Linked DNA regions of Homo sapiens: regions 2, 3, 4, 5 and 6 are each linked to region 1. Evidence: promoter capture Hi-C in human tissues and cell types (Jung and others, 2019). All regions are on one chromosome and are shown on one strand. The core of a region is centred on a gene start or on the middle of the fragment in contact, and the rest is flanking DNA. Distances in the headings are between cores, read along the strand shown. Region 1 holds the start of FAM185A (family with sequence similarity 185 member A). Region 2 overlaps FBXL13 (F-box and leucine rich repeat protein 13). Region 3 overlaps FBXL13 (F-box and leucine rich repeat protein 13). Region 4 holds the start of LRRC17 (leucine rich repeat containing 17). Region 5 overlaps FBXL13 (F-box and leucine rich repeat protein 13). Region 6 overlaps FBXL13 (F-box and leucine rich repeat protein 13).

Region 1 (3,901 bases), core at 1,361-3,860:
GTTATGTCCGTAATATTGCTGAATCCTGGAAAGTGCATACTGTAAAGGTAAGGGGTCTTCTACCACAGCAACGGGACCAAAAACAATAGCCTTTCTGCCCGTTTTTAGAAACAGAGCAGTTATTTCTACTGGCCTAAATCACCTAAAGAGAACTAACATAGATGGGAAGTAAAGGAGACTACGATTCTGTTAAGTACTCCTGTGAAAGACTGTAGAAGCCTCTTCCCCAGTATATATGATCATGACTTAGGTTTTCAAATCCTATGTCTAACCTTTCATACTTAAAAAATGAAAATATTACCATGCAACTATATCACAGGTATTTGAAGTAATTTTTTAAAAATGGGAACAACTTTGAAAAAGCTAATATATACTATTAAAACTACAAGATTAGGCCATGAGCAGTGGCTCATGCCTGTAATACCAGCACTTTGGGAGGCCGAGGAAGGAGGATTGCTTGAAGCCCAGGAGTTCAAGACCAGCCTGGACAATGTAGCAAAACTCCATTTCTACAAAAAAACAAAAACATTAGCCGGGCATGGTAGCATGCACCTGTAGTCCCAGCTACTCAGGAGGTGGAGGCGAGAAGATTGCTTAAAACCGTGAAGTCAAGACTGCAGTGGGCCATGATTGTGCACCTGTACTCCAGCCTGCGTGGCAGAGTGAGTGAGATGCAGTCTCAAAAAAAACCAAAACAAACAAACAAAAAACCCCACAAGATTGTGGACAAATGGCAGTGGTATATGAAGCAAGTTTGGAAAATAAGGAATTACAAATGCCATCCTTGGCTGTCTATTTAAGATGTAACTGCAGGCATCTCTGTATACAAATTTTAAAAATTAAAAACGCTGATATTTAATTTGGAATTAACATAAATATTGATGATTTCTCTTAAAGTAGGCAAGACCCGCCCCCCCACTTGATTCCTGAAACCACAAATAGTACCAAATCCTATATATTCTATGTTTTTTCCTGTATACATATCAATGATCAAGTTTAATTTATAAACTAGGCATAGTAAGAGATGAACAATAATAACAAATACAGCAATTATAACAATATACTGTAATAAAAGTTATATTACTGTGATCTGTCAAAATATCTTAATATTTTCCTACAACAGCTGAGGCAGGTAACAAACTGAGACAGCCAAACGGTGGATAAGGGAGGACTACGGCATCTACTATTTGGGCAACTCTAAGCATTATAAAAGATGATCTTAAAAATGCTAAATGCTATTATTATTACTATCATCATCATCATCAATATCTTCCATCAGTCCCAGGAAGAATGACAGTCTGGGGAGCCCTTCCTAGAAAAGTGTGTGTACACAGTGGCTTGCCATTTAGGAAAAGCTAAGAAAGGTATCTTGCAGGCATTATTATTGAAGCTTCCTAGGCAGGCTTACCATGTGTTTTTCTTCAAAGCTTGCTACTCATGGAAAACTTAGGCCAAAAAGAATGGAAATATAACAGTAAGAAGCTGGGCGCCCGTCTAAAACCAAATACTCAAACCAGGTGATACCCGGAACATCCTATTGACAGGGCTGTTTTGGGACAGACCCCCAGGCTGTGAGCAAGATGAAATGTAGATGGACTGCCATACCATTGAATGAATTGTCAAGAAACTTCAACCTTGAAAAATAAGCCAGTTTGCTAATGACAACGGGATAAAGGAGAACACAAGCGGCTCCAGAAATAGAATTTGACCTGGATTATACCAAATCATGTTTCCATTCGATGTATAAAATTTCTATAATTGGGAACCTAATTTTTAAATACTACTCGGACACTCAAGAACAGAACAGAGGAAAAGGTGCATTTCCGAAGGGGCCAACTGTAAATTAGGTTTAGAGAGCCAGGACCAATTAAAAGTGCACGTCGACCACATTTATTAAGTTCACTGTGCGTTCCCTGGGACCCAAACCCGTTTTCACTTCACTTCACTTGCCAAACTTCAGGGGCGCGTTCACCTCCACGGACGCCTGGGGGTGGATAGTATCAGACACAATGGCCATCTCCTCCAGATCCTCGTCGTACTTCACCTGCAGGCCGTCCAGGCCCCGCACGCCGCCCTCCACGCCGCACACCGCGACCAGCACGCGGTCGCCATCCGGGTAGGTGAGGGGGTCCAGGGGCCTCACGGCCAGGTGGCACGGGAGCCGCGCCCGCAGCCGACCAAACGGGCTCACCTGCAGTGTCCACTCCTTCAGAGTTCGGCGCCCCGGGCCAGGCGGAGGGACCTCAGTCTCCGATCCGGGCCAGCGCTCGCTCCCACCTGAGCTGTACGGCCTGGCTTGGCAAGCCCAGCAAGCCCAGCGCCCAGCGCCAGCCCACAGTCGGACCTGACGGAGACAGAGACGGAAGCAGCCAAGCTCCCAACCTGAGCAGGGGGCAAGCATGGCGCGCCTCTCTCGCCAGTCCTCAGAACACTTCAGCCACAGGGAGGGTCACTTGCCACGGCCAATCGACTTGGCCACTGTGCCGCCTCAAGTCAAATAGGAGACGTAAGTCAGGGTTTGCTGAAACAAGAGCGAGCCGGTTGGCTTGACTAGGCGTTCTAAACATCAGCCGCGCAATCCCCAGGGGCAAGTTGGGATTTGAAAGCTCTAAACTCTGACCTGGACCCCTTGCCTAAGTCCACCCCCTTTCGCTAAGGCCGACGGGATAGGTAGTTCTAAGTCGCAGAGCTCTGCCTCTTAGAAACCACATTTCCCAGGAGGCAATGCGCAGGGGAGCACGGGTAAGAGGGTAGGTGTTAGAATCGCTGGAAAGGCGGGCGCCCTTTGTCTCAAGACCATTGGCTATTGGAGGGGCGGTACATGGGAGTCCACTGGCCAATGGGAAGCACGGAAGGGGCAACGCGGGTAAAGCTGCGTGGTCACCTTGGATACCAAGCACGCGACTTCTTGGTTGGAGAGGGTGGAGCTTTGGAGTGAGACCCAGGACGCCAAATCCCAAAGAGAAAAATAGGAGCCTAAATAAGGATCAGGACCAAGGGAAGGGGTAAGAAACTGCGCTTTTTAAGATGACAACTAGGTGCAAACTAGGAGTAACCTCTGTGGATGTCAACATCCAAGCTTCACTAACTTAGTGAGGGCATCTCCAGGGCATGGAGAATGCCTTGGTAAGAAAGTAAAGAGCAAGATTGGTGCTTTTTGAGGGAATTGCCTCTTTGGAAGTGTATTCCCTCCTATATTCCAAATATAGGAATAGAGTACTTGCTCCGTCCTGACCCTAAGTGACCTTACTTTGGGTTTTAATTTGCTCACTTTAAAAATGTAGATAATAATACCTTCCTTGCCTTGCCTCAAAGGGTTTTTGTAAGGATCAAGTAAGAAAATGGATGGGACCGTGGTGCACAGTCTACAAAATTACCGTGTAAAGAACTGTATTTTTATTTCAACGTACTTAACATTGATTCTGAGTTACCAAGAAAATTATGAGAGATCAGAACTTGTTTTGAGAATAGCATTGATCTCTTTGACTACAAATGATCCTCAGTTTTAGAGTGAAAAAAAAAAAAAAGACACAAAAAAGAGAGTCACCATGGTGCGGTGGAAAGAGCAGGGACAAGGGTCAGGTTATTTTCCTGGCTCTGCCACTGCTTCATCTGTGTCACCTAGACCTGTTTCTTTAGTTTTAAAATGAAGAAAGATGGTTCTAAATGACCCTATAAGGGGTGTGTGTGTGTGTGTGTGTGTGTGTGTGTGTGTGTTTACCTTTTATAATTCTATAGGCAGTAAAATAATGGGAACAGAAAGATTTATTTTCTTCTTTTTTCTTTTTTTCTTCTTTCCTGCCTGGTTTCTCTCTCCCCCTCTGTGCCCCTACTTCCTCCTAAAATGTATTCCCTAAATTATTTAGCCAAGACACCTGCAAACACTAACATTTCATAAAAT
Region 2 (4,027 bases), core at 1,503-4,002, 150 kb before region 1:
GTATATGTATCTCATGTATATGATTTATATATCTCCAACCCAGACATTTCTCTCAAAATTTAGACTCTTGTATCTTAAAAAAAAAAAATTCCTGCTCCTTGCTCCACTACAGCCCTCCCCATCTCAGTTAATGGCAGCTCCATCTTTATAGATGCTTAGGCCAAAAATCTAGGCACCATCTATTATGGATTGATGGAATCCATTGTTCATTGATGGAATGAACAACATTTATATGTTGAAGTCCTAACACCCAATAGTACCTCAGAATATGACCTTATTTGGAAATAGGGTAATTGCAGATGTAATTAATTCAGATGAGGTCATTTAGGGTGGAACCTAATCCAGTATGATGGCTGTTCTTTTGCAAGAAGGAAATTTGGACACAGACACAAGCATACAGGGAGAATGCTATGTGAACCTGAAATGGCTAACTGTAAGCCAAGGAGAGGGGCCTGGGACAAATCCTTCCTCACAGCCCTCAGAGGGAACCAACTTTGCCAACACCTTGATCTCAGACTTTGTGCCTCCAGAACCAGAGAATACATTTCTGTTGTTGAAGCCATCCAGTTTGTGGTACTTTATTACAGCATGTCTAGCAAACTAAGACATTACCCTTGACTCTTTTCTCTCACTCCACATCCACTCTGTTAGGAAGTGCAGTTGACTATTCCTGCAGAATCTAATCAGGATCCAACCACCATCTCCACAGCCACCACCCCAGTCCAAGTTACCATGATCTCTTGCCTGGTTATTCCAATAGCCTCCTAACTGGCCTTTCTGCTTTCACCCCTGCCTCCTGCAAGTCTACTTTCAACATAATATCTAGAGGCATCCTTTAAAAACCCAAGTCAATGTCCTTCCTCTGCTTAAGTACCTGGCAAGCCTTCTTATTCATTTAATAAAAGAAAAGCCTTGGAAGGACCTACAAGGCCCTGAGAAATCTGTCTCATCTTCCAGTTGCCCCTTTGACAGTATTTCTTGTTCTCCTTCTTGCCAACTCTACTCCAGCCACTCTGGCTTCTTTTCTATTCTTCAAAAACATAAGCAGGCTCATGCTGCAGGGTTTCACACTGGCTGTTCCCCTGTCTGGAATCTTTCTACAGATATCTTCGTGGTTAACTTCCTCTAAGTCTTTCCTTAAATATTCCCATGAATGAATGGATAAAATGTACTAGCTAAAATGCTCCAAGGAGATTCACATTAGTTCCCAGTTCATTTCAGAGCTCTCTAAAATATGTCCGTGTTTCTCTTGGAGTCTCAGAATGGAAAATATGAGTAGGAGAAAGAGTTTTAATGGGGAGAACAAAGCTATCCTACTTGTACATGAGAAAGTGCCAATTGGGAGGGTGATGATTCCTGGTTTTACTTTCCCTTTATCCTCTGCTCTGTTTATGTGTAACTCCAACAATTCTCCCATTGACATTATCATGGGGTAGCCACTTTCCCTACAGATTCATGTATCTTCAACTGTGTGCAACGATGGGTTATGGCCCTCTGCAGGAAGCCAGGCATGGAACAACCAGACATGCTGGGAAGCAAGGCTGAGGCCCACTCAAGCTCAGGTTCAAGCCCAAATGCCTAGAAACCAACAACTCTGAATGTGGAGTTGGAGAAGAAGCTGGATGAAAAGTGAGGAGTTTGGACCGTGTTTCAGATTTATATGTTTACATTTAGGATAGTGAAACCAGACAGTAGGGGAGCTTGCCATAGGGGTTTCTGCTTCGGTGCCTCCCCTGTTCTTCATTTCCAGCCTCAGTTGTTTCACTAGGCTCACCTTTTGCCCTCTGCCTGGACATCCTGCTACTGTCCCTTTCCTCCATTCACCACATTAACTTGCACTTATCCTTCAAGGTTCTGTTCAATCACAGCCTTCTCTAGAAGGGCCTCACTAAGCCGTTCCTTGCCCTATTCCAAGCTGGGTTAGTATCCCTCTTGTGTATACTTTTATCATTGTACTTTTCACTAAGCATTCTCTACATATTCAATTATCTGCTTGCTTGTCTGCTCTCCTTCCCAAGGTAAGCTCTTTGAAAACAGGGATGGTGCCTTATATAATTGTGTATCTGTATCCTTAGCAAATAATACAATACCTGGCTCATAGTAGGACTTTGATAAGCTTGACAAATGAATGAATGAGACTGTGGCCAATTTCAGGGCATGCCTCCCCAGGTGCTTCAGGTGGAAGCTCAGGATGCCTGTTACGTAGTGGGAAGTTGGTAACTTGCTAGAGCAAGGCTTGATGATCTCTTTTCTTGGTAAGGTCAAGTCTGATATTTCTTTAAATTTACAGAAAGAAAAGTGCCTAGGAAGCTATGAAATATAAAATGAAAGTATTTTCTCTCTCTCTCTCTCTTTTTTTTTTTTTTTAAGAGACAAAGTCTTTCTCTGTGACCCAGGCTGTAGTACAGTGGTGTGATCATAGCTCACTGTAGCCTCAAACTCCTGGGCTCAAGGGATCCTCCTGCCTCAAGCCTCCCAAGTAGTTGGCATTACAGGCGCATGCTACCAAGCCTGGTTAATTCTTTTCAAATTTTTTTTCTAGAGACGGGTCTCAATATGTTGTCCAGGCCAGTCTAAAACTCATGGGCTCAAGCAATCCTCCCACCTCAGCCTCCCAAAGTGCCAGGATTACAGGCATGAGTCACCATGTGCACTCTATTTTTTCACCAATTATATTTTAATCACTATACACAAATCAACAAAAAATGAAAAGGGACAGTATTCTAGGAATGTTCAAATGATTATAATACTCAATGCAGTAATAATGGCTTATCAGTTCTTGTACTGTTAAATCTCTCTAGAGCCCACGAAACTTAAAGGTAGGCTGTACAAACTGCAAACTGGAAGATTCCAAGGTCATTTCAGTTCTCTCTAGGTTACATAAATTCCAACCTTCTCCTTTCAGAGAAGCAGAGATCATGGAAGGTCTTACTTGTTCACCCCTGGGATTTGTGTTGGAGGTTGGAGAAAGCCACACAGGCATGTCCAGGGATGAATGTACTAGCCAAATTGAATGGAGATTGCATAAGCAAAGCAAGAGTCAGGGGAGGAATTTCTTTGTCTCTTTCTTTTCTTTTCTTTCCTCTTTCTTTTCTTTCCTCTTTCTTTCTTTCCTCTTTCTTTCTTTCTTTCTCTCTTTCTTTCTTTCTTTCTTTCTCTTTCTCTGTCTCTCTCTCTCTTTCTTTCCCCTCCCTCCCTTCCTTCCTCTCTTTCTTTTTCTTTCTTCCTCTCCGCCTCTCTTCTCTCCCTTCGCCTTTCCCTTCCCCTTCTTCTCCCCCTCCCCCATTCCCTCCTCATCCTTCTCCTTTCTTTCTTTTTTTTTTTTTTTTTGAGACAGAGTCTTGCTCTGTCACCCAGGCTGGAGTGCAGTGGTGTGATCTCGGCTCACTGCAAGCTCCACCTCCCAGGTTCACACCATTCTCCTGCCTCAGCCTCCCCAGCAGCTGGGACTACAGGTCCCCGCCACCACACCTGGCTAATTTTTTTTGTATTTTTAGTAGAGATGGGGTTTCACTGTGTTAGCCAGGATGGTCTCAATCTCCTGACCTTGTGATCCGCCCGTCTCGGCCTCCCAAAGTGCTGGGATTACAGGCGCGAGCCACCGCGCCCAGCCTCTCCTTTCTTGAAGTTAGGAGACCTGGGATCTATTTCTTGTTATGCTACTAACCAGTTGTGTAACCTTGGAGTTACTTGGTTTTTCTGCCTCGATTCCTTCACCTGTAGAATGGCTAGGCTGGGCTAAATAACCTCTAAGGTCTTTTTCAGCTTTAGGATTTTGTGTTTCTAAATGGTAACTAGACAAGATAACCAAAAAAGGAGCAAGATTGGAGAAAAAAGAATAGTGAATCTTATTTTGGAAAGGCCAAATTTCAGGTTGCTGTGATACATCTGGGTACAAATGACAAGAACAAATTGGAAGTAGAAGTCTGGTCCTTGGAAGAGAGCTGGGAGTGAAGGTATAGATTTGGAAGTCTGTCAATAAACGTTAATTGGAACAACAAGAGTTTTGTGACCAGCTAAACCAGTT
Region 3 (3,556 bases), core at 612-3,111, 240 kb before region 1:
CTTTGACCACCTGACTTATTTTTCATTTGTCCACCAGAGTTGTCTTTCTCAGATCACATTTATTCATGTCACTTCCTGGTTAAAATCTCTCCTGAACTCTGTTGGCTTTAACATGCTGCATGAGGATTTCCAGTTCTAGCCTCCACTACCTCTCAGCTGCATTCTCCATCATTGCTCCAGACGAGCCCTTGGCTGTAGCCATGTGGAGTTACTCCATGTTACCCAAGTTCAAGGCACCCTCTCTGGCCATATGCCTTCACCCATCACGTGCTCTCTTTGTAGGCTCTCTCCTCTTCTTCCTTGCCCTACTCAGTCCTGCTTAGGCTCAGCTCAGATGTCATCTCTTCCAGAAAGGCTACCTTTGATCCTCTGTCCTCTCTCTCAGTCTTGGTTAGTTACCCTTCCTCTCTGTTCCCAGAGTCCCTCTTGAGATACTTTTTACTCTCTTATAATGGCCTATTTTGTGTTTTCTTCTTGGACTATATGTGCCTTGAGGACAGGGACAGTGTCTTACCTGCTTTGAATTCACAATCTGTAGATGCCCAATAAATATTGGTTGAATGATCGAATGAAAAATGATGTTTTCTTTTCAGCTCCACTATTACAAACTTGGTCTCATCAAGGTCCCAGGAATTTCTTAATCATCAAATCTGATTGCCTATGATCCCTTCTTGTCTTGCTTTTTCAGTAGCACTTGATTCTGGGCTTCTGTGGCATGACATTTCCTGTTTCTTTTCTCTGGGAATTATTTCTCTATCCTCAGGATAGGTTTCTTGCTCTCTCCTCACACCCAGATGTTGGCTCTGGTCTGACTGTACCTCCAGATGTTGGCTTTGGCTCTCTCTCTTTGCCCTACATTCTTACTAGGTCATGGCAGTCACAGCTAGGCTTTCACCCACCACTCTCTGGTGTCGGCATTGCTTTGGAATCATGATAAGGACATTTCCAATTTACCTATTATTTGGAAACTTTAACCTTTTAAATCTTGATGAATGTGAAGCCAGTGCTACTTATGATGTGCAGTAATGTCGGGAGAGTCAACTGGTTTTGGGGAAAGAGAAACTTAATTTTGGATTCAGTGAATTTGAAATGTCAATGAGACATTAAGTTAGAAGGTCCTAGAAGTATCTGAAAAGTAAGAGTCACTGAATTCTACATATACAGCAATTTTAGAGTTATGTGATCCAACCTCTTTTACAGGAAAATATTCCTCACAGATGTTCTTGAGGTTTTAGAGGGCACCCTCTTCCGTATCTGAGTTTGGAACCAATTGAGAAATAGAGAGATGGAAGTGGACATATTTTCTGATACAGCTGATAGGAGACTATGACTTAAGATCACTGACAAAGGATACTACTTCATTCTTTCATCCCTGAATCAGATAGACTCGCCCCTCGGTCACTGCACAGCTGAACAACTGCAGGCCTCCCTATGCTGCTGAGAGCAGACCAGGATGCATGCATCTTGCATTCAGGTCAAGGCAGGGTGGAGCAGGAGCTGAATTGCAAGCCTAGTTCTTTCTCCCAAACACTCCTCCTCTTCTCCTGGGAAGATATGAGGGGTAGAGAGAGAGAGGCCCAGAGTGTTTCTAAAGTGTTTCTAGATAGAGATGTGAGGCCAAGGCAATGAAACGTCTCCATTAGCAGTAATGTTTATCCAGCATTTGGTCTAGTACTTTCTGTGCTGGAGAGTCTGTTGACTTTGCGATGCATTCTGTTCTGTCTTGGGAAAGATCAGATAATTAGAAAGTTGTCCTTCAGATCAAAGCAGAGAAAGCGGCCTCATTATCTTTTGTTTCTAGTTCCTTCTTCTGCATTCACAAGGAAGATCAAATTTGTCAATTATTCATGCAAAGCTTTCATTTTATTTTCTAGTGCTTTTGTGGTTACTTGTTTCCAGTTTACTCAATTGTTTGTTCCTCTGTGAGTTTCTAGTCTCAGCCCTCCCTGTCCCCATCCCTGCTACTCCCTTGGCTGCTGTCTTCTAAGAATTCTGTTTGTAGCTTCCTCATAAAGTGGGCTGGGCCACGTTTTCTCCCTCATTCTGAGTGGTCTCACCTTCTGAAGGGCAAGGAGCTCTCCAGGTTATAGCTTGCCTGGATCTCTTCATACCCTTATACTGAGCTCCCTCATTATTGTGTCTGGGGTTTCTCTTTAAGTAGCAATGTGAGAGAAAACTACACAAGATAATGTGAATATGTAACCACATGATTTATTACTTAACACAGTCAGATCAGAATCAGTGGGATAAGCAGCCTAGGGTGTCCCTTGAGCACCCAGGTTCAAGTTAATCCTTTTACATGGAAAGCGCTTTCTTCTGCGTAGAGATACCCAGGTCATTTAAGACTCTACACCAGTTTTGGTTCTGCATGATGAAGGAGTTCTTTGCCTGAGCAGTAGGGAGTAGAGAATGCTCTGTGCTGAGACTCCTAAGTCCCCACTGTGTTCTTGGCTACATTCATCCTTGGGGTTAAAAGAGTGTATACCGTTCTACATTTCTGCCCTCCCACTTTGTTTTGTTTTTCTTTTTCCCTTCAATATGGCTGATCTGTTTGGGTTTTTCCAAATTTTCTAATTTATCTTCTATTTTCATTACCATTTTTGCTGCTGCTCTGCATCTGCTATACAACGGCTTCCTTCTCCAATTAGTTCTTCATACTCAGCAGTGTCTGGAGGTGGAAAAAAATATTCCAAGTGTTATCTGATTAGTGCAGCATCCAGTGCAAGTATCATCCCCGCCCCTTAAAGTGGACATTCCTGAGCATATCTTTACCCTTCATTGAAGCAGTGCTAGCTAGACTGACCACTGACCTGCAATAGCTTCTTCAGCATTAATTCTCTCTGGAAACTCATCCTCAGTGACAGTACTCCCACTTGGTTTTCTGTTCACCTTTTTGATCACTTCTTTTAGGATTCCTTTAGGATAACATATCCCCATTGCCTTCTTGTATCATGGTGTTTGTAAGGACTCTGTCATTGTTTCTCTGTTCTTCTCATTCCATCTTCACTCCCTGGGTGATTTCAAATACATGCTTTAGGTTATAGTTATATGCTGTTTACTCACGATTGCCAAATCTGTGTATCTCCAGCCATCACTCTCTTGTAAGACCCAGGTCATTTAACAATGCCTGCTGGGTAACTCCACTGGAATATTTCATAGCATCTACCCCCTAGCGTGTTCAGCTTGAAGCCGTTACTTCCCCACCTCTCTTATGGGACTACTCCCCACCCCTCTGTATTCCTGGGCTTTCTTGGTAAATGGTGTCATCACTTGTCATCCAAATTAGAATTGTGGGAATCATCCTGGACTTCTCCTTTTAAAAAAAATTCTCCACGTCCCATTAGTGATTAGTGTATGATACCCACTCAAGATGCGTTTTCATTTAGGAATAAATATAAAGTGGGATTTCACATTATTTCAAGTTTTGCCATATAGTGAGGCTTATGTTTTTATTTCACTATTTTAAATCCACCAAATTCAAATTCGTATAAAATGCATCCACACTACCCTAAGAACTGTGCTTGGATTTTTGCTATTAGTTATCTCATGTAATCCT
Region 4 (3,917 bases), core at 534-3,033, 160 kb before region 1:
TATTAGCACTGCTTTCTCCTTCAGGCCCTGCCCACCTAGTCACTGGTGAGTCCAAAGCCTTCCCCCTCGCTCTGTCGAATCTCACGTACACAGCCCTTCCCAGATCGGGATGTGTGTTCTGAATCAAGTAATTCGCTATGGCATGCAAATCATTATATCATATAGATGTGTTTTTCAAAATCTGATTAATGGTCAGTGCTTGTATATCTTATTTCCCATTTATGGGAGGTAAACTTTATTCACCTGTGTGATTTTGAGAGGCAGAGAAGCATTTTCTCCTCACTTTTCATTCTTTTTGCTTTCTAATTTGCTATTAAGCTGTTGCATATCACAAACTAAGAGCATGATTGCTAATTCCATTAGAAGAGCAGATAGTAGTGGGAATCCTTGACCTCTTAAAAAGTGCCAGGCTTTCTGGGCACGGTGGCTCATGCCTGTTCCGAGCACTTTGGGAGGCCAAGGCGGGTGGATCACCTGAGGTCAGGAGTTCGAGGCCAGCCTGGCCAACATGGTGAAACCCTGTCTCTACTAAAAATACAAAAATTAGCTGGACATGTTGGCACGCGCCTGTAATCCCAGCCACTTGGGAGGCTGAGGCAGGAGAATCGCTTGAACCAGGGGTTGGGGGAGTGGGGAGGAGGTTGCAGTGAGCCAAGATCTCACCATTGTACTCCAGCTGGGCAACAAGAGCGAAACTTCGTCTCAAAAAAAAGTTCCAGGCTTTGGAGGGCTTGGGAAATTGTCCACGGAGTGTCCTCAAACTGCGAGCCCTCGTATGGTAGTACAGGCTCATCCTAACTACCCTACTTTTTTCTGGAAGCTGTCATTTTGGTCATTGTGGTAATACCATATTTAATCTGTTTCAACTCCAGCGAGATTTATAGTCTCTGATGTTGCTTTTGATTCTTCTCATGTGTTGCCTGCTTATTTGCAAACTGGTCTTCTTAATCCATGCTTAAACTCTGCATATCAATTAGTCTTTCTTTAACTATAATAATGAAACTGTCACAAACTCATGCATATTTAAACCTATTTTTTAAACTCATTTGCTTATCAGATCTATTTTAAGAGCATGGTCATATTCAGTTTTGCCTTCTGTCCCAAATCCTCACTCTCCTGTAACAGTCTCCATTTAAATGTTTACAAAGGATTTGTCCTTTTATATATTTTGCACATTATTTTGGTACTCCAGAGATAAAACCTAAAAGCAACAATACACTCTGCAAATTTGGTTTCACTTCCAAACAATATGATTGCCTCCCCCACCTCACACACACCAAAAAAGCTTTATCCCAGTCAACTTTCTTAAATATCTAGGCAAATATTATTGAACTATTAATACTTTCACTTGAAATGTATTACAAGGTATTAAATGTATTGTGTGTTACCTTATATAACACTGTAGTCTCCTTTAATTAACAGGTAGAGAGTTAACAGTAAAGTTAAATGTTGAACATCTGCAAGAAGAAGAGTTGAATTTACAGTTTTCTTTGTCATAGTGGCTTAAGAAAGATTTGAGAGAACAACGGAAGTATAATACTTTCCTTCCTCTCTTTTGTCTTTTCAGGCACTTCCACAACTTACAGAATCTTAGTTTGGCTTATTGCAGACGGTTCACAGACAAAGGCTTACAGTACCTGAACTTGGGGAATGGATGCCACAAGCTCATCTATCTGGACCTCTCTGGCTGCACCCAGGTTTGTCTTTCAGTCTTCTCTTTGCTGCGGTGTGTGAGGAAGTTCTCCAGAGAATGGGCTGCATTCAGCCCTCACGTTATACTAATGCTGTGCACGGACCGCAGCACACTTTTCAGAGGTTTTAAATTACATGGCCCCAGCTGCTGAAATTTTCCCCAGGATCGCTATTATAGGCTCTTGGCTTCCTTCCACTGGAGTGTCACACAGACAAACAGGCAGAGCTCATTGGATGAGGAAACGGACCACTTTTGTGGAGACAGTCTGAGCACAAGTCTAAAGCAGAGTCCAAGTCCTGAAAACTCTGGAGTTGCTACCAAGACACAAACAAAGAGAATGTTTTGAGGGAGAATTTTGCATGGGATTCCTGAAAAGTCAATTAACTCCCACATGGGTTTTTTTTTGGGGGGGGGGGGGTAAAATGCTATAAGTGATAAATAGGAAAAGAAAATACAACAAAAACTCATAATTTAAAAAATTGCATTACACCGTTGGGCTGAATAACATGAAGATTTGAGATCTGCGTGGGAAAATATTTTAAGTTTGAGGGAACAGGACTTGGAAAGTTGGGCAGAAAATTGGATCAAGTTGCAGAGGATAGGGCATGGCGCTTTGGATGTAGCTACTGCCTCATTGATAGTTTCTTCTGCTTTAATTTCAAAAGATTTAAGCCATAATTCTTTTAACTTATTTTCTTCTGCCTCTCTGTGTATTTTATTAATTTGGTGTCATAGTATGTTCATTATTCTATGAGAATAATAGCATAGGTGAGAACTGGCTGAAATATTGATAGTTATCATTTCTTGAGTCATTACCATATGCCAAGCATTGTGTTGAGTGCTATACACAGATCAGATTTACTTCTGATACAGTGCTGTGGTGGTATGTATTTACTATGCTTATTTACAAATGAAGAGACCAAGGCTCAGGGTGGTTGAATAAGTTGCCCAAGTTTGCACAGCTGATGAAAGCACATGGTACTAGTACAGTTTTAAGCATCTGTTGCTAGATACTGGGGCAGGCAGAGTTCCCTGGGATAGTGGGAAATACAGGGGCAGCATGGGTTTCTCCCCCAGGGTTCTTGAATGGATAGAATTCTTACCTAGTCACCTCCACTGACATCTTGTGGTATCCTGATGCCCTGGGTGGTCTGGAGGGAGTTGGGGCAAGGAGGGGAGGATTCTAAGTTAGGGCTGTAAACATCTAACATTCATATTTGTTTAAAACTGATCTGCTGATGTGTAGCTTTTTAAACATCAACATCTACCATAACTTTATGACTGAGATGGCATTGACGTTCTCCTCAGCATGACTGAATTTTAGACCAGCTTCTTACTGACTCTAGGCCCTGACTTCTTGTTTTCTTGTTTCTTAGAGCATTTGTTTTAGAAAACTTGGAATTATAAGTTCTTTCTCTGCCTACTTTGAGATGTCTTTTTAACAAAAGCTTCTTGACAGTTTTACAACTCAGGAAAGTCTTCCTCAAGGACCTGGGATCTATCCCTTTGATATATAATCATCAAAGAAGATATCTCTCAGTTCCTGTGGGTGGGTAGAAGCCTAACTTTGATGGGCACCAATTAGCAAATGCCAATGGCCCAATCACAGAGAAAAATATTTGCAAACTCAGGAACAACTTAATGTGCTTGACATATCCCACTGATAAGCCTGCCCCTTAACTATAAATCCTTCAGTACTTTTCTAACTCGCCGTTGTGCTTAAACCCTCCTCATGGTATGACTTACCTCCTTCTTCTTATCAATTTCTCAGTTACCATGAGGCAATTATTGTAGCAACAACACACAAATGTATACACAAGTGTCCTAAGGATAAATATTCTCAGACACAGTAAAGTTGAAATGAGAGGCTTCAAATCTATGACCTACTGCCCAGATATGCATACAAAACACACATAATTGGAGGAGGTGAAGCAAGATGGTGGAACAGAAGGCTCCACCCATTGTTCCCCACCCAAGGACACCAAGTTAACAACTATCTACAGAGAAAAAACACCTTTGTATGCTTTTAGGCTGGGCGCGGTGGCTCATGCCTGTAGTCCTGGCATTTTGGGAGGCTGAGGCAGAAGGATTACTTGAGGCCAGGAGTTCAAGACCAGCCTAGGCAACATGGTGGGACCCACGTCTCTACCAGAAATGCAAAAAATTGGCCAGGCATGGTGGTGCATGCCTCTGGTCCCAGCTGCCTGGGAGGCTGAGGTGGGAG
Region 5 (3,590 bases), core at 1,074-3,573, 200 kb before region 1:
TGTTGATTGGAATAGTTTCAGAAGGAATAGTGCCACCTCCTGTTTGTACTTCTGGTAGAATTCGGCTGTGAATCCGTCTGGTCCTGGTCTTTTTTTGGTTGTTAGACTATTAATTATTGCCTCAATTTCAGATCCTGTTATTGGTCTATTCAGAGATTCAACTTCTTCCTGGTTTAGTCTTGGGAGGGTGTATGTGTCCAGGAATTTATCCATTTCTTCTAGATTTTCTAGTTTATTTGCATAGAGGTGTTTATAGTGTTCTCTGATGGTAGTTTGTATTTCTGTGGGATTGGTGGTGATATCCCCTTTATCATTTTTTATTGAGTCTATTTGATGCTTCTCTCTTCTTTATTAGTCTTGCTAGCAGTCTGTCAATTCTGTTGATCTTTTTAAAAAAAAAACTCCTGGATTCATTGTTTTTTTTTGAATGGTTTTTTGTGTCTCTATCTCTTTCAGTTCTGCTCTGATCTTAGTTATTTCTTGCCTTCTGCTAGCTTTTGAATTTGCTCTTGCTTCTCTAGTTCTTTTAATTGTGATGTTAGGGTGTCGATTTTAGATCTTTCCTGCTTACTCTTGGGGCATTTAGTGCTATAAGTTTCCTTCTACACCCTGCTTTAAATGTGTCCCAGATTGTGGTGCGTTGTGTCTTTGTTCTCGTTGGCTTCAAAGAACATGTTTATTTCTGCCTTCAGTTCATTATTTACCCAGTAGTCATTCAGGAGCAAGTTGTTCAGTTTCCATGTAGTTGTGCAGTTTTGAGTGAGTTTGTTAATCCTGAGTTCTAATTTGATTACACTGTGGTCTGAGAGACAGTTTGTTGTGATTTCTGTTGTTTTACATTTGCTGAGGAGTGCTTTACTTCCAATTATGTGGTCAATTTTAGAATAAGTGCGATGTGGTGCTGAGAAGAATGTATATTCTGTTGATTTGGGATGGAGAGTTCTGTAGTTGTCTATTAGGTCTGCTTGTTGCAGAGCTGAGTTCAGGTCCTGGATATCCTTGTTAACCTTCTTTCTTGTTGATCTATCTAATATTGACAGTGGGGTGTTAAACTCTCCCCTTATTATTGTGTGGGAGTCTAAGTCTCTTTGTAGGTCTCTACAGACTTGTTTTATGAATCTGGAAACTCCTGTATTGGGTGCATATATATTTAGGATAGTTATCTTTTCTTGTTGAATTGATTCCTTTACCATTATGTCATGGCCTTCTTTGTCTCTTTTGATCTTTGTTGGTTTAAAGTCTGTTTTATCAGTGAGTAGGATGGCAACCCCTCCTTTTTTTGCTTTCCGTTTGCTTGGTAGATCTTCCCGCATCCCTTTATTTTGAGCCTACCTGTGTCTTTGCACATGAGATGGGTCTCCTGAATACAGCACACTGATGGGTCTTGACTCTTTATCCAATTTGCCAGTCTGTGTCTTTTAATTGGGGCATTTAGCCCATTTATATTTAAAGTTAATATTGTGATGTGTGAATGTTTTCCTGTCGTTATGATGTTTGCTGTTTGTTTTGCCTGTTAATTGATGCAGTTTCTTCATAGCAGTGATGGTCTTTATAATTTGTCATGTTTTTGCAGTGGCTGGTACCGGTTGTTTCTTTCCATGTTTAGTGCTTCCTTCAGGAGTTCTTGTAAGGCAGGCCTGGTGGTGACAAAATCTCTCAGCATTTGCTTGTCTGTAAAGGATCTTATTTCTCCTTCACTTATGAAGCTTAGTTTGGCTAGATAAGAAATTCTGGGTTGAAAATTATTTTCTTTAAGAATGTTAAAGTGCAGTATTTGGGCAGCAGTGCCCCATTTTTCCAGGTAGTCTGTCATGGCTTCCCTTGGCTAGGAAAGGGAAATCCCCCGACCCCTTGTGCTTCCTGGGTGAGGCGATGCTCTGCCCTGCTTTGGCTTTTCCTGTGTGGGCTGCACCCACTGTCCAACCAGTCCCAGTGAGATGAACCAGGTACCTCAGTTGGAAATGCAGAAATCACCCGTCTTCTGCGTCGATCATGTTGAGAGCTGCAGACCGGAGCTGTTCCTATTCGGCCATCTTGGAACACCCCTTGTTTCTCTGTTTTTGTCTGTCCCTCTTTCCCTATAGGTATATGTGTATACACACATATATACACATATGAAATATACATAGAAAATATACTATTAAATACATCTGCATTTTCTGAAGGAAGGAAATGGACTCAAGTTGCAACATTCAGGGTTTCAGTTTGACCTAAGATTTTCATGATAGCAATGGTAGTTGAACAGTGGAATGAGTTTCTGAGAAATAGCAAGGCATGCTTATCTGGAAGCTTTTGTTTATTGAGATACATTTTATGTAACATAAAATTCACCTTTTTAACCATTTTAAAGAGTACAATTCAGTGTTTTTTATTATATTAACAATGTTGAGCAACCAGCACTATTTAATTCTAGACCATTTTCATCAGCCCAAAGAGGAAGCTCATACCCATTCTCCCTTTTTTTTCTTTTCTTACACAATTGCTCATTGAGGAAGCTCCCATATATTCCTACTTCACTGAGTGTTCTTATTATAAAAGGGTGATGGGATTTTGTCAAATGCCTTTTCTAAGTCAACTGAAATGGTTTTCCCCTCTTTCCTTCTATTATTATTGCGTATATTACATTGATTGATTTTTTTTTTCGTCTGTTGAACCACTCTTGAATGCCTGAGATCAGTCTTGCTTGTTCGTACATCATGGTGTATAATCCTTTTAATATGGTGCTGGATTCTCTTTGCTAATATTTTTTGAGGATATTTGCATCTATATTTAAAAGGAATATTACTCTGTAGTTTTTCCTTCTTGTGATGTCTTTGGCTTCCTTGTCAGGATAATATTGGCTTCATCGAATGAGGTAGGAGGTATTTTTTCCTTCTATTTTTTGGGAAGAATTTGAGGATTAATGTTTGGTTTAAAGTTTGAGGATTAAATGTTTGGTAAAATTTGCCCATGAAGCCATCTGGTCCTAGGCTCTCTGTTGGAGGGTTTTTTTGTTTGTTTGTTTGTTTGTTTGTTTTGAGATGGAGTCTCACTCTGTCACCCAGGCTGGAGTTCAGTGGTGCAATCTTGGCTCACTGGAACCTCTGCCTTCTGGGTTCAAGTGATTCTCCTGCCTCAGCCTCCTGAGTAGCTGGGATTACAGGTGCGTGCCACCACACCCAGCTAATTTTTGTATTTTGAGTAGAGACGGGGTTTTGCCATGTTGGCCAGGGTGGTCTAGAACTCCTGACCTCAAGTGATCCACCTGCCTCAGCCTCTCAAAGTGCTGAGATTACAGGAATGAGCCATGGTGCCTGGCCTTGTTGGAGGTTTTTTGATTGCTGATTTAGTATTTTTACTTATTATAGCTCTATTTAGATCTTCTGTTTCTTCTCGAGTCAGTTTTGGTAGTTCATGTGTTTCTAGGCATTTGTCAATTCCATGCAGTTTATCTAATTTGTTGGGGTACAACAGTTCATAATATTCTGTTATGATCCTTTTTACTTCTGTAAAGTCAGTACTAATGTACCCACTTTCATTTCTAATTTTAATAATATTAGTCTTTCCTCTTGTTTTCCTGGTCAGTCTAGGTAAAGGTTTGCAAATTTTGT
Region 6 (3,882 bases), core at 268-2,767, 180 kb before region 1:
TTGCTGAAGTGAAAGGATCGCCTGAGCCTGGGAGGTTGAGGCTGCAGTGAGCCAACATGGTGCCACTGCACTCTAGCGTGGCTGACAGAGCAAGATCCTGTCTCAACTGTCTCAAAAAAACGAAACAAACAAACAGAATAACTATTGTATTCTGTATGTCAACTATTCTGTTTATTATTATACATGCTGAATTATTTATGATATACATGTTGAAGTATTTGGGGGGAAGTGTACTGGTGTCTGCAACTTACTTTGAAATGCATACAAAAATAAGATGATTGAGGGCTATAGATAGAGATGAATGAGTGGGTGGATATGTGATAAAGCAAATACAGTAAAAGATAAATTAGAATCCAAGTAGTGGCTATATAGATATTTATTGTACAATTCTTTCCACTTTTGTGTATGTTTGAAAATGTTCATAATAAAATGTTAAATGAAAACAAAAAAATAAAAAAGCAGGCACAAAAAACCAGGTTGGTTTTCTTCAAGTGCTTTCAAGCTAAAAGCTCTAAGTATATAGTGTTTTTCCCAAAGTAATATTTTTCTCTTTTCCCCTTACTCCTATAATCCTCAAACAATAATAAACATGTCTGTGTATTTTAATTCTGAAGCCCAAAAAAGCCATTTTTCTGGGGAAAGAAACCATATACTTAGAACATGTTACTTGCCAAGGTTTTTGTTTGTTTTCTAATGAATACATTGCATTCAATGTAAGATAGAAAAACTTTGTTTAAACATTTGCAATATGTAGTTTAGTGACGTGTAACTTATTTGATTTAGGCCACTGTAGGAACTTGCAAGAGTTGAATGTCTCTGACTGCCCAACATTCACAGTGAGTATAAGCAACCATTTTTACTGCTGTTTATATAGATTGACTTGCTACATTGGGGTGCCAATATGCAGAATAGATGCTTGTGTGCTTATTTGGGATTCAATGTGGAAAAGAGCAAACTATGTTAAACATTGACAAGAAATTTTACTCCATCTGCACAACGCTAATATTAATCATGTAGATGTATGCTCAGTGTTGGAGCCTCTGGCAAGTAGAAATTCTTCAATGACTACCCAAAATGAACTGTATTTATATTTAATGGTATGTGTGTATGAGACAGAAAAAAATTGGGCCCCAGTAGACATGATAGGCTCATTTTATCTTCATGGCTATCAACAGCTGTGCCAAAGAAGATGGAAATGAATATGTTTCCCTAGTTGCTTTCTTCCTGGTTCCTGTCTCCAGTCTTTCCCTCTGTCCCCAACCTGTCTTCCATTCTGTGAGCACTTTATACTCTTTGTAAAAGGCAGATATGACTACTTCACTCTCATCTTCCACCAGCTACACACACTGCCGTCATCTACACAGTTGGATAAAGCCAAAGCTCTTTAATATTACTCTACCTTGAAGACCCTCTGTGGTTTTGCCTCTGCCTCCCTTTCCAGCCTCACTTGTTTCAGTTTCTGTGTACACACTAATTTGCAGTGCCTACAGCTGCTGAGTTTCCTTTTCCTGCATGCTCCAAGTTGCTCCTTGCAGTTGTGCATTTGCTCTTTGCTTAAAATGCCCTTTCCCTTTGTCCCCAAGTGGTGCTTTCCTCTTTATCAAGCTTTAAGTCTTATTATCACCTCTTCTACCAAGACATCACTGGCTCCCAGGGCTGGGTTCACTGCTGCTCCTCTAGGTTCCTATGATAAGTATCCTTAACCATAGGGTTTTGGCTTCCTTCACTAGCCTAAGAGACCCAAAGGGCAGGAGATGTGTCTTGTTCTTTGTGGTAGTCATAGCACAACAGCACGAACTTTGGCATATTATATTCAATAATATTTAGTGAATGCAACTATCTGGAGATACCAAGTAGGCAATGGACAACATTGACTAGAATTGAGATTCCATCTTGGGTTGACATCTATGTATAAGTCATAATTAACATCATAAGCGTGAATAAGATCAACTTAGAAGGTTTGAGAAGAGGAGCAGACTTAAAGTTGAGCCTTACGGAATGCTGACTTTTAGGAACAGAGGATATTCAGAAGGAATAGTAAGAGAAGTAGGTTGACAATGAAGAGGTATCACAAAATGAAAGTGAGTAAAGAGTTTCAGAAAGAACCAAAGTGAACAGGTAAGAAAAGGACTGAACAATGCATTGTAGATTTGAGAATCAGAAGGGACTGCCAATTATTGCTTCAACAGTTTCAGTGGGATATTGGAGCAGAAATCTACTTGCAATGAATTGTGAAGTGGAGAAGAGGTCAGAAGGTGAGGCATTAGGCATAAACTGATCTTTCCAGAAAAGTGTCTTAGAGAGTGGTAGAAGGAAAACAGGGGCAGGGAAATGGAAACAGGTTTATAGAGGATGATGGAGAGTCAGCTGAAGCAACTCATGGAGTAAGTCCCTAACGAGATAGGAGGGAATAGGAGGAAAAGCCTGGCTGTGGAATGCCAATCATGAGGCACCAGCTCCACCATGAAGGCCAAGCCCTCCTCGCTGGTGAAAAGACTGCATGAATTGGCCCCTCCCTGCTACCTCTCAGCCTCATTTTTACAGCCTCATCTTTCTAGTTTTTTCTTTCAAAATTCTACTCTATTTCAATACTGAACCACTTGAAGTTCCCTGTTCATGTCATGCTATTTCATTGTGTCTTTGAACTTGTTTTTCCATCTGCCTAAATGACTACCCTTCCCTCCCCACCACCCCTAGCCCAAACTGGCTAACACCTGTTCATTCTTTAACACACTCTTCAATGCTATCGGGTCTTTCCATTCTCTTTGTTTATTGACCTTTAATAAACAGCTTTATTGAGATATAATAAATTTATATTTATATTGAGATTAAATTTACCCACTTAAAGTGTACAATTTCATGGTTTTGGTATTTTTACAGAGTTGTTTGACCATCACCACAACCAACTTCAGAACATTTCCCTCACCCCTAACAGAACCCATGCCCATCAACAGTCACCCTTCATTTTCTCTCAACCCCCGGCCCTATGCAATTCTGTTCACTTTTTGACAGTTAATTTCTAACTTAATTAATTTTTTTTTTTTTTTTTTTTTGAGATGGAGTCTCACTCTGTTGCCCAGGCTGGAGTGCAGTGGTGCCATCGTGGCTCACTACAACCTCCACCTCCCAGGTTCAAGTGATTCTCCTGCCTCAGCCACCCAATTAGCTGGGATTATAGGCACGTGCCACTGCACCTGGCTAATTTTTGAATTTTTTTTGTAGAGATGGGGTTTCACCATGTTGGACAGGCTGGTCTCGAACTCCTGAGCTCAAGTGATCCACCCGCCTCGGCCTCCCAAAGTGCTGGGATTACAGGCGTGAGACACCGCACCCAGCTGACAGAATTAATTTCTCCCTCTTCTGAGCTACATATGGTCTCAGTACTTCAACACAGATACTTCACACTGTATTACACTTATGTTTACATATGTATCTCCCGTTTTAGAACTGAGCACTTTGAAAATCCTCCTTTAGTAATTTTTCCCCATGAAATCCATCCCATTTCCACAGTAAAACATCTTTTCAAAACATGGAAGGCATTATACACAAATAGAATGTGTACAGAAGAATGTTAAGACCCTCAGAACTCCTCCACTCCTTACCTCAACACACAGAGTCAGCATTTAAATTAGTTGTTTAATCCCTGTCCAGCAGAACATAAAGAACCACCATAGACTGTAAACTAAGCATCTTCTCAGTGGCTTGTACTTTAACATAAATAAGCTGTTCCTTTATGTTCAAAAGTACCCTTCAGGGTCATCCGCAAGAAATGGAGGCATAGACAGACATGTCAAATATCACATCAGAGAAAAAAATGTTCTGCTTTCTCTGGTTGCACTCTTTCTCCACTAGCAAAGTGAACGTGGGCTCCTTCATGAAGAA

The links. The method cuts DNA at HindIII sites, captures the fragments that hold promoters and counts their contacts. A contact is called where the count stands out against the background at its distance.
Region 2: a contact is called between a fragment that was not itself captured here and the fragment with the promoter of FAM185A in region 1, in 4 of the 25 tissues and cell types used here (H1 embryonic stem cells, IMR-90 fibroblasts, aorta and 1 more).
Region 3: a fragment that was not itself captured here is called in contact with the fragment with the promoter of FAM185A in region 1 in 5 of the 25 tissues and cell types used here (IMR-90 fibroblasts, aorta, mesenchymal stem cells and 2 more).
Region 4: the fragment with the promoter of LRRC17 here is called in contact with the fragment with the promoter of FAM185A in region 1 in 3 of the 25 tissues and cell types used here (IMR-90 fibroblasts, aorta and mesenchymal stem cells).
Region 5: a fragment that was not itself captured here is called in contact with the fragment with the promoter of FAM185A in region 1 in 2 of the 25 tissues and cell types used here (H1 embryonic stem cells and mesenchymal stem cells).
Region 6: a contact is called between a fragment that was not itself captured here and the fragment with the promoter of FAM185A in region 1, in 7 of the 25 tissues and cell types used here (H1 embryonic stem cells, IMR-90 fibroblasts, aorta and 4 more).

Annotation. Positions count from the first base shown.
Region 1 is chr7:102,747,708-102,751,608 of GRCh38, reverse strand. FAM185A (family with sequence similarity 185 member A) reads right to left here and starts at 2,610. Exons shown (of 8, transcript NM_001145268.2): 1 at 1,951-2,610. The coding sequence starts at 2,401. It also overlaps the pseudogene RASA4DP. RefSeq lists silencers at 2,621-2,790, 2,831-2,920 and an enhancer at 2,593-2,887. The HindIII fragment of the contact is 9,642 bases long and covers 1-3,901 here.
Region 2 is chr7:102,893,071-102,897,097 of GRCh38, reverse strand. All of the region lies in intron 12 of FBXL13 (F-box and leucine rich repeat protein 13), which reads left to right. Among named protein-coding and RNA genes, the nearest start is that of LRRC17, 18 kb to the left of the region's middle. The HindIII fragment of the contact is 7,461 bases long and covers 1-4,027 here.
Region 3 is chr7:102,987,487-102,991,042 of GRCh38, reverse strand. All of the region lies in intron 7 of FBXL13 (F-box and leucine rich repeat protein 13), which reads left to right. NFE4 (nuclear factor, erythroid 4) reads right to left here. Exons shown (of 3, transcript NR_166512.1): 2 at 2,811-3,010; 3 at 2,190-2,668. Among named protein-coding and RNA genes, the nearest start is that of NFE4, 16 kb to the right of the region's middle. The HindIII fragment of the contact is 5,278 bases long and covers 1-3,556 here.
Region 4 is chr7:102,910,866-102,914,782 of GRCh38, reverse strand. It overlaps LRRC17 (leucine rich repeat containing 17), which reads right to left and starts at 1,783. Exons shown (of 4, transcript NM_001031692.3): 1 at 1,638-1,783. FBXL13 (F-box and leucine rich repeat protein 13) reads left to right here. Exons shown (of 21, transcript NM_001394494.2): 12 at 1,568-1,697. The HindIII fragment of the contact is 8,626 bases long and covers 1-3,917 here.
Region 5 is chr7:102,952,411-102,956,000 of GRCh38, reverse strand. The region is part of intron 9 of FBXL13 (F-box and leucine rich repeat protein 13); the gene reads left to right. Among named protein-coding and RNA genes, the nearest start is that of NFE4, 19 kb to the left of the region's middle. The HindIII fragment of the contact is 3,113 bases long and covers 767-3,590 here.
Region 6 is chr7:102,928,835-102,932,716 of GRCh38, reverse strand. FBXL13 (F-box and leucine rich repeat protein 13) reads left to right here. Exons shown (of 21, transcript NM_001394494.2): 10 at 784-836. The region is part of intron 1 of LRRC17 (leucine rich repeat containing 17); the gene reads right to left. Among named protein-coding and RNA genes, the nearest start is that of LRRC17, 18 kb to the right of the region's middle. The HindIII fragment of the contact is 7,115 bases long and covers 1-3,882 here.